4 separate regions of the Homo sapiens genome follow, and all the other regions are linked to region 1. Evidence: promoter capture Hi-C in 16 types of primary human blood cells and fetal thymus (Javierre and others, 2016). All regions are on one chromosome and are shown on one strand. Each heading gives the region's core, a stretch centred on a gene start or on the middle of the fragment in contact. The rest is flanking DNA. Distances are from core to core; before and after follow the strand shown.

Region 1 (2,700 bases), core at 113-2,612:
AGGTTCTCTGGGAAGGCTTTGGAAGACTTTTACACCAGTAAGTAACATGATCATATGTACATTTCCAACATTCTGCCTGCTATGTGGGGTGGATTAAAAGAGAGAGAATGGAAACAGTGGGGCCCGGTAAATAATCATTTTATTTACCCTGGTGATAGATGATTGTGATAGGAATGGAGAAAATAAAAAATAATGGAAAGAGATGAAGGTGGAACTGATAGAACATACTGTTGGAATTAATGTTGATGGAAAGTATAGAATGAAGGCTGACTTTTTTTTGGCAAGATTAACAGGGAAATGGTAATGCCATTAACCAAGATGGGGGATCCTGGGCCAGGAGTAGGGTTGGAGGGAGATTCAGTTCTGCTTGCAGTCATAAGACTGAGATACCTAATGGGTACTCAAGGAGAGATGGATGAAGTTGAAGTCGAAGCTCAGAGAAGAGGTCAGAATTGGGTGTGAAAGGAAAGGGGACTGGCTGAGATCTCCTTGGGAGTGAGTTTAGATAGGGAGGAAGTTCAAGGACAGAGTCTTAGGCATATCAACATTAGAAACCAGAGAAAAGATAAGGATTCAGCAAAACGTATTGACAAGGAACAACCAATGAGACACGAGGAAAATCAGATCTGAATGAATTAAATGAAACAAGGCATCAAGAAGGAACGAGTGGTGGAATCTGTCAAGCACTGACAGATGGGGCCTGGGATGTGACCACTGGATTTGCTGGCAGAGAGGCTGGTGATGGCTTTGCTAAGGGCTGTCTTGTTGCTGATGGATTCATGAGAAAACTAGAGGTGGGGAACCAGAATGCAAATATGTATGAGTCTTCTGAAATGTTTTGCCATAAAAGGGAGGAGAATCACAGAGTTAATTTTCATGGAAAACTCAATGGCCTTTGTGCAAAAAATTACAATCAGAAAACCATAAAAATCACTCAAGTCGACCAAAATGTATTAAGTCTCTCCTCTTTGGAAAGCTCAGTTCTATTAAACAGCAGGATGGTGGAAAAGGGACTCAAAAGGGGCAAAATATACCCCATCTCCATGAAGATTATAATAACTCTGAGAGACCCCAGAAGGGGATAGTGCTGTCAGTGAAACATGTGGGGTGTCAGGATCCTTATAAGAAGGGACATTGATTCTGATTAAGGATGAGGGAAGACATAGGTGACCTCAGCTGGGCTTGAAGCATGAGGAAGATTTAATGAGCTTGATTTGATTATCAATCAAACAATAAAATGTAAAGTTAAAAATTAAACCACTGGGCCAATAAAATTCTCCAAGCTGGTAACATAAGGGCTAAAGGTTTTGGGTAATTATTTACCTCCCAGAATTAGACAATTGCAAAGAGCTTAGAATATTTATTTGAAAGGAATGAGGATCCTGCACTCTTCCTCCCTCAGGTTAGTTAGCTTTCAAACTTTTACCCTTAATATTCTGCTTTTGAGATGATGGGAATGGGTCTGTTTCTGTTAGAGAGCAGCTTAATTTGCTGTTTAGGGGCAGAGATTGTGGGAGTGGAGAAGAGAATGCCTGTGTCCTGAGATAATTCTGGTAAGTGAGAAGGGATGTTGCATTAAGAGCCCTGGAACTACAGGGAATTAATTCAAGAGAATGAAATTTTCTAAAAGTATAGCTGAACAGAGACAGACAGACAGACACACACACATACACACACACACACACACACACACACACACACACAGAGGAAGAAAGAGAGAGAGGAAGAGACAGAAACTAAATGATATATTTGGATTGTTTTTGTGAAGTACATTAATTTTTTTAAGCATTGATCAAATCCACAGTGAGACAATAAATGCCAATACTGAATTCTCAGAGAGGAAGATTTTCATCATGCCTAAAAAATTAATGAAAACCAAACGGTTCTGGTTTGGTTCCAGCGAATTTATGGGAAAGCAAAATAAATGAAATCTAATATGGCTTTGGGAAGTAGTTAATGATGAAGAGTTTAGGGCAGAGGACTTTATTTGCAAACTGTGAATAAGAGCCATGGGCTGTTTCTCATAAGGAGGAAAAATGTTCAGTGCTGAGACCACCTAAGATGACATTTGAGCTGTTAATAGCTCTGCCCAGCACCTTAAGGAAAAGTCTCATTCTACAGTGGACTGATAACTAGCAGAGGAACAGGGTGCATATGAATCCAAAAAGAACAGACACAAGCAGTCTTGGCAAGAAAAACTGATGAGAAATTGATATAAGAATGGCTGGCTCCATTTCTTTGCTGTTTTTTCCTCATTTACCTGGTTTCAAAATAAATAGATAAGGCTGATGACTCACACATTTATATTTCTACAAAGGCCCTTCTGTTCTTAGCTATGGACTCACAGACACAAAACTTACCTGTCAATCTTCCCTTCTGGGTCTAACAGGAGTCTCAACCCCAAGTGTCCAAAATAAAGTTCTTGCTTTTCCTCTGGAACCTGTTGCCCTCCCTGCTCATTTCGCCAACTTCTTTGAGTGCAACACTATTCACTCATTTGCTCAAGCCGTAAGTCTAGAAGTCTCTGATGATTCTTCCCTTTCTCTCATTCCCATATACACCTCATTAGCAAGTCTTAGTGGCATATCTCCAAAACAGGTCCTGAATGTGGTCTTTTTCACCACAACTAGCCTAGCCCATCCACCATCAACACTTGTACAGGTGAAGAAACAACTTCTTGTTCAGTCTCTTGGTTCTCAA
Region 2 (2,848 bases), core at 95-2,594, 140 kb after region 1:
CACTTCTGTGAATCACGAGACAGTTTTGAATGCTAAATGTCAGTTAACAGATCTAAAGGGACCAACATCTGCTTTCCCAAATTATATGAAAGAAGATCCTGATCCCTCATCAGGTGAAACTCACATCAGACAACAGTGTCTGCATTTCTCCAAAACCCGCCTCAGCCCCATGGCCACTTTCCAGGGTTATCCTGCCTACCAAGCACTCTCTTTCCTCAGAAAAACTTGGGGGAAAATGTAGAATAATAATTTTTTGAAGTTCTGACCAACTTCTTGAATCACTCAGCATGTTTTTGACTGCAGGTACAGAAAACGCTGACTCAACAAATTTAAACACTATATAAATTTCTTATCTCCCCAAACAGGACATCAAAGGCAGAAAGGTTCCAGAGCAGGGTGATCAGAGCTCTGGCTCCACTGCCCTCAGTCTTCTTGCCTCTGCTCTCCTTCACAGCAGGCTTTACCCCCCATGCTGGTCACAGTTTCAAGTGTCCATGCAGACACAAGTTAAAGGCAGGAAGAAACAGTGCGTTTCTCTTGGAGATCAAGGAATGCCTTTCCAGAAAACTCCCCCTTATGTCTCATTTGCCAAAACTTGGCCTAGTCTCAGGTGCTGCCTGAGCTAATCAGCTACAGAAGAAGGGACCACATGACTGGTGTGGACCAGTCAGAATTCACCACATGAAGCTAGTAATGTGGCTCACACTTCCCAGGGGGATATGGCCAGGTAGCAGACAGTGGATCGCTGAACAGAATACTGATAGATTTCAGCACCAAGGTTAGAATGGCTACCACACCTAATCCCACCCTATCCCCGTTTCCTTCTTTAATTTTTTCCATAGCACTTATCAGTAGCTGACAAACTGTATATGTTTTTACTTTTTTATTGTCTGTAGCTCCCAAGTAGAATACAAACATCTGAAACTCACTGTATCCATCCTGAGTAATGTTCTTTTCAGCTCAGTCACAATCATTTTTTGATAGCCTATCCTATAAGCTTAACTTATAGTGTTAATCAGTATTAATACATCTTAGTGGGAAAGAAGGAAAAAATAAACGATCACACACACACACACACACACACACACACATACATTTACGTAACAGAGCAAGTGTGAAAATACCTAAAGGCTTTATAGCTCCTTTTGTCAATGGATACATGACAGCATTTTTGGCATTCTTTACTACTCTTATTCTATGCTCCATTTGTCTTCAGTCAGCACCTCAGCTGCCCTTATGTTTTACTTGGTAAGGCAAATTCCTAAATGAGCCTGGTAATTAGTCATCCAGCTTATAGGAAGGTACTATAGTTTTTCATTAACTTTTTCACTGGGCTTGAGAGTAGTAAGGACTCCCAGAGAATTCCTTGTGTTCCAAAAGTACTTCTCCTTGACATCTTGGTATAGGATTAATAACTGTTTACCTTTGATAATCAGGAAGAATGACTCCAGCTAGTACAGTTACGTGATGCCTATACATTCCTTTTTTTCTGGGAAAAATGTAATGTGAAATTAAGTGCAAAAACCATGCCTTGTTTATGTATGTATCAAACACTTCTAGAGCTTTCCCAATACAGTTCTCTTCTCAGCAAACAAGAGGACTATACCCTCATCCCCACCCCTGCACTTAGGTGTAGCCAATGTGTTGTAACTTAAAGAGGAGAGGGCACTGGATGAAGGGAAATCTGTCTAACAAGCTTCTTTATTTCACCTAGTGGAAAAAAGCCTTAATCTGCAGTGGGGCAGTTTTCAAGGACATAGACTGAATTGGCTCATGCATTTATGGAAGATGAGGAGTCCCATGATCTGTAATCTGCAAGCTGGAGACCCAGGAAAGCTGGTGGTATGATTCAGTCTGAATCTGAAGGCCTGAGAACCAGAGGAACTGATGATGTAAATCCCAGTTCAAGAGCAGGAGACCAGATGAGATGTCCCAGCTCAAGCAGTGAGGCAGAAAAAAAGGCCCAAATTCCCCCTTCCTCTGCCTTTTCTTCTATTCAGACCCTGAATATCAGGTGGCATAATGCCATCCACACTGGGAAAGACAGTTTACTTTACTAGGATCACCTATTCAAAGGCTAATCTCATCCAGAAACACGCTCACAAACACAGCCAGAAATAATGTTTAACCAGATAGCTGGTTATCCCCTGACTCAGTCAAGTTGACACAAAAAATGAACTATTTCAAAGCTTACTGTAATCAACAGTTTTGTCAAAAAGATAGACACAAATCAGTGGAATGAGATAAACAGTCTAGAAATAAACCAACAAAAATATTGCCAACTAAGGCAAAGGTAATCAATGGAAAAAAGATAGTCTTAGCAACAAATAGTACTGGAACACCACAATGTGTTAATAAAGTGAAACTGGAGACATCTCTCACACCTTATACAAAAGTAACTAAAAATAAATCAAAGGACTAGATGTAATGTATCAAACATTACATCTTTTAGAATGTATCAAACATTACAAGCTTTTAGAATAAAATATAGAAGAAAATTTACATGATCTAAGATTTGGCCCCAATGAAGTTTTAGCTATAATAACAAAAGTATTAGTCATGGAAGAAAACAAAATTGATAAGTTCAGGTGGGCTAAATTAAGGGAAAAAAATCACTTTGCAGTAGAGAAACCTGAAACATTACCTAAACCACATGATGAAGGTTAATATCAGTGATGTCATGTGGATATCATGTTCTCCCTAAAATGATGTGACAAGAAGGGCCCTTTGCCCTTGTGGTATTATTTCAAAAAATCTATAACTCCGGTGTAATTATGAAAAAAAAGCAAATGATCTTCAGGACTGTTAAGGTCATGAAAAGCAAGAAAAGACTGAGACATTGTCACAG
Region 3 (2,871 bases), core at 201-2,700, 200 kb after region 1:
ACTTTACTGAGAGGGGCCTCTAACCCCTTAAATCTTAAGGACTGTAGCCTTCCTAAGTTGGGTCTCAAACCCAAGTTCGGTCAAGCATTCTTGCCCTTTATTAAGAGCGGACTGAAACCCTCTCTGTCTTAGGAGAGACCCTATCTCCCCTAAGTTGCACCTCTAACCCAATCCTATCCTTTACCCGGGGACTCCACCACTTACCCAAAGTCAGCCAGTTGGTGCTGTAGTCTGTTTCCTTTGGCTTCAGAGTCTCCTCAGTATTGTCCCTTCGTGGTCACCAGAAAGATGTTACCAGAAAGGGGTCTTGATCCAGACCCCAAGAGAGGGTTCTTGGATCTCACACAAGAAAGAATTTAGGGCAAGTCCATACAGTAAAGTGAAAGCAGGTTTATTAAGAAAGTAAGGAAATAAAAGAATGGCTACTCTGTAGGCAGAACAGCAGCGTGGTCTGCTCAAATAAGCATACTTATAGTTATTTCTGGATTATGTGCTAAACAAGGGGTGGATTATTCATGAGCATTCCAAAAAAGGGGTGGACAATTCCCAAAATTGAGGGTTCCTCCACCTTTTAGACCATATAAGGTAAAGTCCAGATATTGCCGCAGTATTTGTAAGCTGTCATGATGCTGGTAGGAGTGTCTTTTAGCATGTTAATACATTATAATTAACATATAATGAGCAGTGAAGACAACCAGAGGTCCCTTTGGTGGCCATGTTGGTTTTGATGGGTTTTGGCCAACTTCTTTACCACAACCTATTTTATCAGCAAGGTCTTTGTGATGTGTACCTTGTGCTGACTTCCTATCTCATCCTGTGACTAAGAATGCCTAACATACTGGAAATGCAGCCTAGCAGGTGTCAGCCTTATTTTATCCAGCGCCTATTCAAGATAGAGTCATTCTGGTTCAAATGCCTCTGACAATGCAGCCTTGAATTCCTGGGCTGAAGCCATCTTCCCACTTCAGCCTCCTGAGTAGCAGGGACTACAGGCACACACCATCATGCCTGGCTAATTTTTTTGTATTTTTTTTTTTAGAGATGGGGTCTCACTGTGTTGCCCAGGCTGGTCTTGAGCTCCTAGGCTAAAGCAATCCTCCTGTGTCATCCTCCCAAAGTGTTGGGCTTGTCAGAGGTATTTGAACAAGAAAGACTCCATCTTGAATAGGAGCTGGGTGAAATAAGGCTGAGTCCTGCTGGGCTGCATTCCCTGTAAGTTAGGCATTGTAAGCCACAGGATGAGGCAGGCAGTGGGCACAAAATACAGGTCATAAAGACCTTGCTGATAAAACAGGTTGCAGTAAAGAAGCCGGCTAGGCCAGGTGGGGTGGCTCACACCTATAAGCCCAGCACTTTGGGAGGCTAAGGTGGCTGGATGGCTTGAGCGCAGGAGTTGGAGATCAGCGTAGGCAACATGGCGAAACCCGGTCTCTATTAAAAATATAAAAAATTAGCTGGGTGTGGTGGCACATGCCTGTAATCCCAGCTACTTGGGAGGCTGAGGCACGAGAATCGCTTGAACTCAGAAATTGGAGGTTTCAGTGAGCTGAGATCGTGCCACTGCACTCCAGCCTGGGCAAAAAAAAAAAAGAAAAAAGTAAAGAAGCTGGCTAAACCCCACCAAATCCAAGATGGCGATGAGAGTGACCTCTGGTCATCCTCACTGCTCCCCACCAAATCCAAGATGGCGATGAGAGTGACCTCTGGTCGTCCTCACTGCTATGCTCATACCAGCGCCACGACAGTTTACGAATGCCATGGCAACGTCAGGAAGTTACTTTATATGGTCTAAAAAATGGAGGCATGAATTATCCACCCCTTGTTTAGCACATAATCAAGAAATAACCATAAAAATGAGCGACCAGCAGCCCTCAGAGCTGCTCTGCCTATGGAGTAGCCGTTCTTTTATTCCTCTACTTTCTTAATAAACTTGCTTTCACTTTACAGACTCGCCCGAATTCTTTCTTGTGTGAGATCCAAGAACCCTCTCTTGGGGTCTGGATCTGGACGGACCCCTTTCCGGTAACAGGATTACAGGTGTGAGTGAGCCACCATCCCCAGCCTTAGTAAATTTTTATTTCAGTTATTATATATTTTTATTTATTTTCTGTTTTTCAGTTATTATATTTGAAACTCCAGAATTTTTATTTAGAATGTATTAACAAATCAGGAGTACTGGCATAAGCCTGGCACAAAGCAAATGTTGACATAGGTCTGGCACAAAACAAGTGTTCAATGCATTTTAGCTACCTTTAAGTGTATTATTACTAGCTGCTTCTGGGGCTATCCGGGGAAAATTATCCTTGCAAAACCCCCACTCACTTCCAGAGCAGGCTTCAGTGAAGCAGTCATCTGTGTCATGACAAGAGCCAAACTCTGTAAAACATTTGAAGAGATTTATTCTGAGCCAAATTTGAGTGACCATGGCCCATGACACAGCCCTCAGGAGGTCCTGAGAACAAGCGCTCAAGGTGGTTGGGATGCACCTTGGCTTTATACATTTTAGGGAGGCATGGGACATCAATCAAATACGTTTAAGAAATGTACACTGGTTTGGTCCAGAGAGGCGGGACAACTGGAAGCAGCGGAGGAGTGGGGTGGAGGTGATGACAATTGGTTGAGTTTGTATAAAGATTTGGGATTAATAGAAAGGAGCACTAGGTTGTGATAACAGGTTGTGAAGACCAAAGTTGTACTATGGGATGAAGTTTTTAGCTAGCAGGCTTCAGAGAGAATAGGTTGTAAAATGTTTCTTATCAGACTTAAAAGCTGTGTTGATGTTAATGCCAGAGAGGAATAATGAGGCATGTTCAACCCCCACTTCCCTTAATGGCCTGAGCCAGTCTTTCAGGTTACATTTTAAGAAGCCTG
Region 4 (2,854 bases), core at 197-2,696, 180 kb after region 1:
CTATATTCTTGAATGGGAGAAGTAATACCATAAAAACTATTGATTCTTCCTAAATTAGTAAACACATTGAGTGAAAATCCAAGAGGAAGAAAGAAAAATGGAAGACAAACTGGAAATAGCCCAAATTTTCATCAGTGGAAGACTGAGTACTTTGTGATACATAGTCATTGCAGAAAAATAACACAGTTAAAAAGAATGAATCACATCTATAACATTTGACCTGAATACTTTCATATAATGTAATACATTTTTAAATGAGTAAAGCAGATACTAAGGACGTATAAAGGGACTCCATTTTTTTCTGAATATTAATCAAGAAAATTCTATATATCTGTATCTTTGTTTACATAAGATTGTGTGAGCCATAATAGCTGTTGACTTGGGTTATCAGGTTTGGGTAAACAGTTTAGTGGTAAAAAAAAGATGTGTAAGACTTGGCCGGGTGCAGTGGCTCACATCTGTAATCCCAGAACTTTGGGAATCTGAGGCAGGCAGATCACTTGAGGTCAGGAGTTCCAGACCAGCTTGGCCAACATGGTGAAACCTCGTCTCTATAAAAAAACTACAAAAATTAGCCAGGCATGGTGGCGCACACCTGTAGTACCAGCTACTCAGGAGGCTAAGGCAGGAGAACCGCTTGAACCCGGGAGGTCGAGGTTGCAGTGAGGTGAGATCGCGCTACTGCACTAAGCCTGGGCAATGACAACAAAACTCCGTCTCAAAAAAAAAAAAAAAAAGTGTAAGACTTAGCAAAAAGGTGACCAAAAAAAAGCAACATTTATAAACTATGGATGTAAAACTCTATGTATGTGTGAGTGTGTATACATGTGTGAATATACATAGGATACATTTTTGTCTGTATGTGTATATGTACATACATGCATGTATGTGTATGTGTGTGTATATATACAAGCTTTTTTAAAATGTTTTCAACAATATTGAATTACATTAGAAAAATGCTAGTACTGTAGTGTACAAAGCAGGATGCGTTGTGCACATCCACATACAGGAATAGAAACAGATATATACATACACACACACTACACACACCCCTATACCTACACCAAATATACATTGAGAGAGAGAGATAGAGAAAATAGTAACTAAGGTAGTTAATTCTGGCCACAAGGATTTTTAGATGAATCTGACTTTCTTCCTTAGGTTTTTTTTGTATTGTTTAAAGTTTCACACAAATAGCATTTATTTACTGTATAATCATAAAAGGCAAAAACCTATTTTGATTTTAGGAAAACACAAAGCATCCAAACCAAAAATCTCAACTTAGGAAATAGCGGGAAATCTAGGGAAGTCAACAGGACCAGGTCATGACGGTCTTTTATGCAATGTCCAGGAGCTTGAACTTTATCTTGTCGTTCCTATATTTCCTCAAAACAAATGTGTGTGGACGCAGAAATGGAAATGCACAGCAGTGCACTGAGGTCACAGGAAAAATACAAAACAGTTTTTCTGAAGTACTAACTTCACTCAAAACTTCGGGAAACATTTTAAAAATGGTTTTAAACAAATTTGACTAAATTTGACAAATTTAGTCAAATGCAAAATTTTCATTTTTAAAAGGAAATAAATTTTAGAGGAAAAAACAGATGTGAAAAAGAATACATGAAATAGTACATGAAGGAATACATGCACGTGGCATACACTTGAATCCATGTATATGCCAGGTTTTCTTGTGTTGCACACAAGACCAACTCTGAAGTTAAAGATAACCCAGTAGAAAAAATTAAATGATGGGGAGTAATTAAAATGTTTTCAGCAGGAGTAGGACATGATTTTTATATTTAGACTGTTTAGTCGGCTAGTTATGTCTGACGGATAGAAGTGAGGACACTCCTAATTGAAAAGTAAGTGCTACTAAGAAACTCAACGTGGGGGTCATAGAATGAAGCCAGACTTTTGTTCCCAAGCAGGAGACAGATGCAGATAAGAGGGAATGAAGATGAAGTAAGGGCTGAACCACAGAAGCTTCGCATCATAAGTCATTGTATTTCTCTGAGTGAACATCATAGAACTTATTTACTATCTGGTCACAAAATGCCACTGACATGAAAAGAAATCGGGTTGAAATGGCTCTAGACCAAGATTCCCAAGACATCAAGAAATCACCAAAAGTTGCCTCAGGTTCACAAAAAAAGATATTCCAAGGGAGTTCTCCAAGTAAGTAAACACTCATTATTTCTATAAGGCTTAGGCCACAAGACCTTGGCTGAGACCCCTGTCTCTGTGATCTGGTCTGTACCACATTGGAAGGGCCATGACTGATTTCTACCTAGACATTTAAGGCTGAACGGAGGCTGAAGAACCTCTTGCTTGCTTTCCCATAGACTCACATCTGATAACAGCCCTCATCTTAGGCCCCAGAGGGCAAGAAGAGGTTAAGAAGGATCAACCAAAGGTAAAGTACACCAAGAAAAGAGCAGCTCTTTGGTTAGAATTTTAAGATAAAGAGAGACACATAAAAGCTACTGTTGAAAAATAACAGAAGGAACAACGTTTTATCTAATCAATAGATGGAACAAGACAATAGAGGACCATCTCAACAATAACCTAGAATACCATGGAAGACAGACATAAATCATCTGTATTTGTCCTGCTCAAGACTTGCCATATGCCAGGTATGGTGGCTTATACCTATAATCCCAGAACTTTTAGGCTAAGGCAGGAGAATTGCTTGAGCGCAGGAGTTCCAGACCAGCTTGTCTCTACAAAGTTCTCTGGGGGTTTTTTTTCGTTTGTTTGTTTTTTAGGCAGGTGTGATGGCACACACTTGTGGTCCCAGCTACTCAGGATGCTGAGGTGGGAGAACAGATTGATTCTGGGAGGTCAAGGCTGCAGT

What was found. Contacts are between HindIII fragments. The CHiCAGO score rates a contact against its expected background, and 5 or more counts as called.
Region 2: a fragment that was not itself captured here is called in contact with the fragment with the promoter of SLC17A4 in region 1 in 3 of 17 cell types (total CD8 T cells, naive CD8 T cells and M1 macrophages); the score reaches 7.2 in total CD8 T cells.
Region 3: a fragment that was not itself captured here is called in contact with the fragment with the promoter of SLC17A4 in region 1 in 2 of 17 cell types (naive B cells and total B cells); the score reaches 5.4 in naive B cells.
Region 4: a fragment that was not itself captured here is called in contact with the fragment with the promoter of SLC17A4 in region 1 in 1 of 17 cell types (naive CD8 T cells); the score reaches 5.1 in naive CD8 T cells.

The regions. Positions count from the first base shown.
Region 1 is chr6:25,753,380-25,756,079 of GRCh38, forward strand. SLC17A4 (solute carrier family 17 member 4) reads left to right here and starts at 1,363. Exons shown (of 12, transcript NM_005495.3): 1 at 1,363-1,402. It also overlaps a transcript of SLC17A1 not described here. The HindIII fragment of the contact is 7,086 bases long and covers 1-2,700 here.
Region 2 is chr6:25,898,141-25,900,988 of GRCh38, forward strand. No RefSeq gene overlaps it. Among named protein-coding and RNA genes, the nearest start is that of SLC17A3, 25 kb to the left of the region's middle. RefSeq lists an enhancer at 1-565. The HindIII fragment of the contact is 699 bases long and covers 996-1,694 here.
Region 3 is chr6:25,954,088-25,956,958 of GRCh38, forward strand. No RefSeq gene overlaps it. Among named protein-coding and RNA genes, the nearest start is that of TRIM38, 7.3 kb to the right of the region's middle. The HindIII fragment of the contact is 3,225 bases long and covers 1-2,871 here.
Region 4 is chr6:25,934,729-25,937,582 of GRCh38, forward strand. No RefSeq gene overlaps it. Among named protein-coding and RNA genes, the nearest start is that of SLC17A2, 5.5 kb to the left of the region's middle. The HindIII fragment of the contact is 1,070 bases long and covers 912-1,981 here.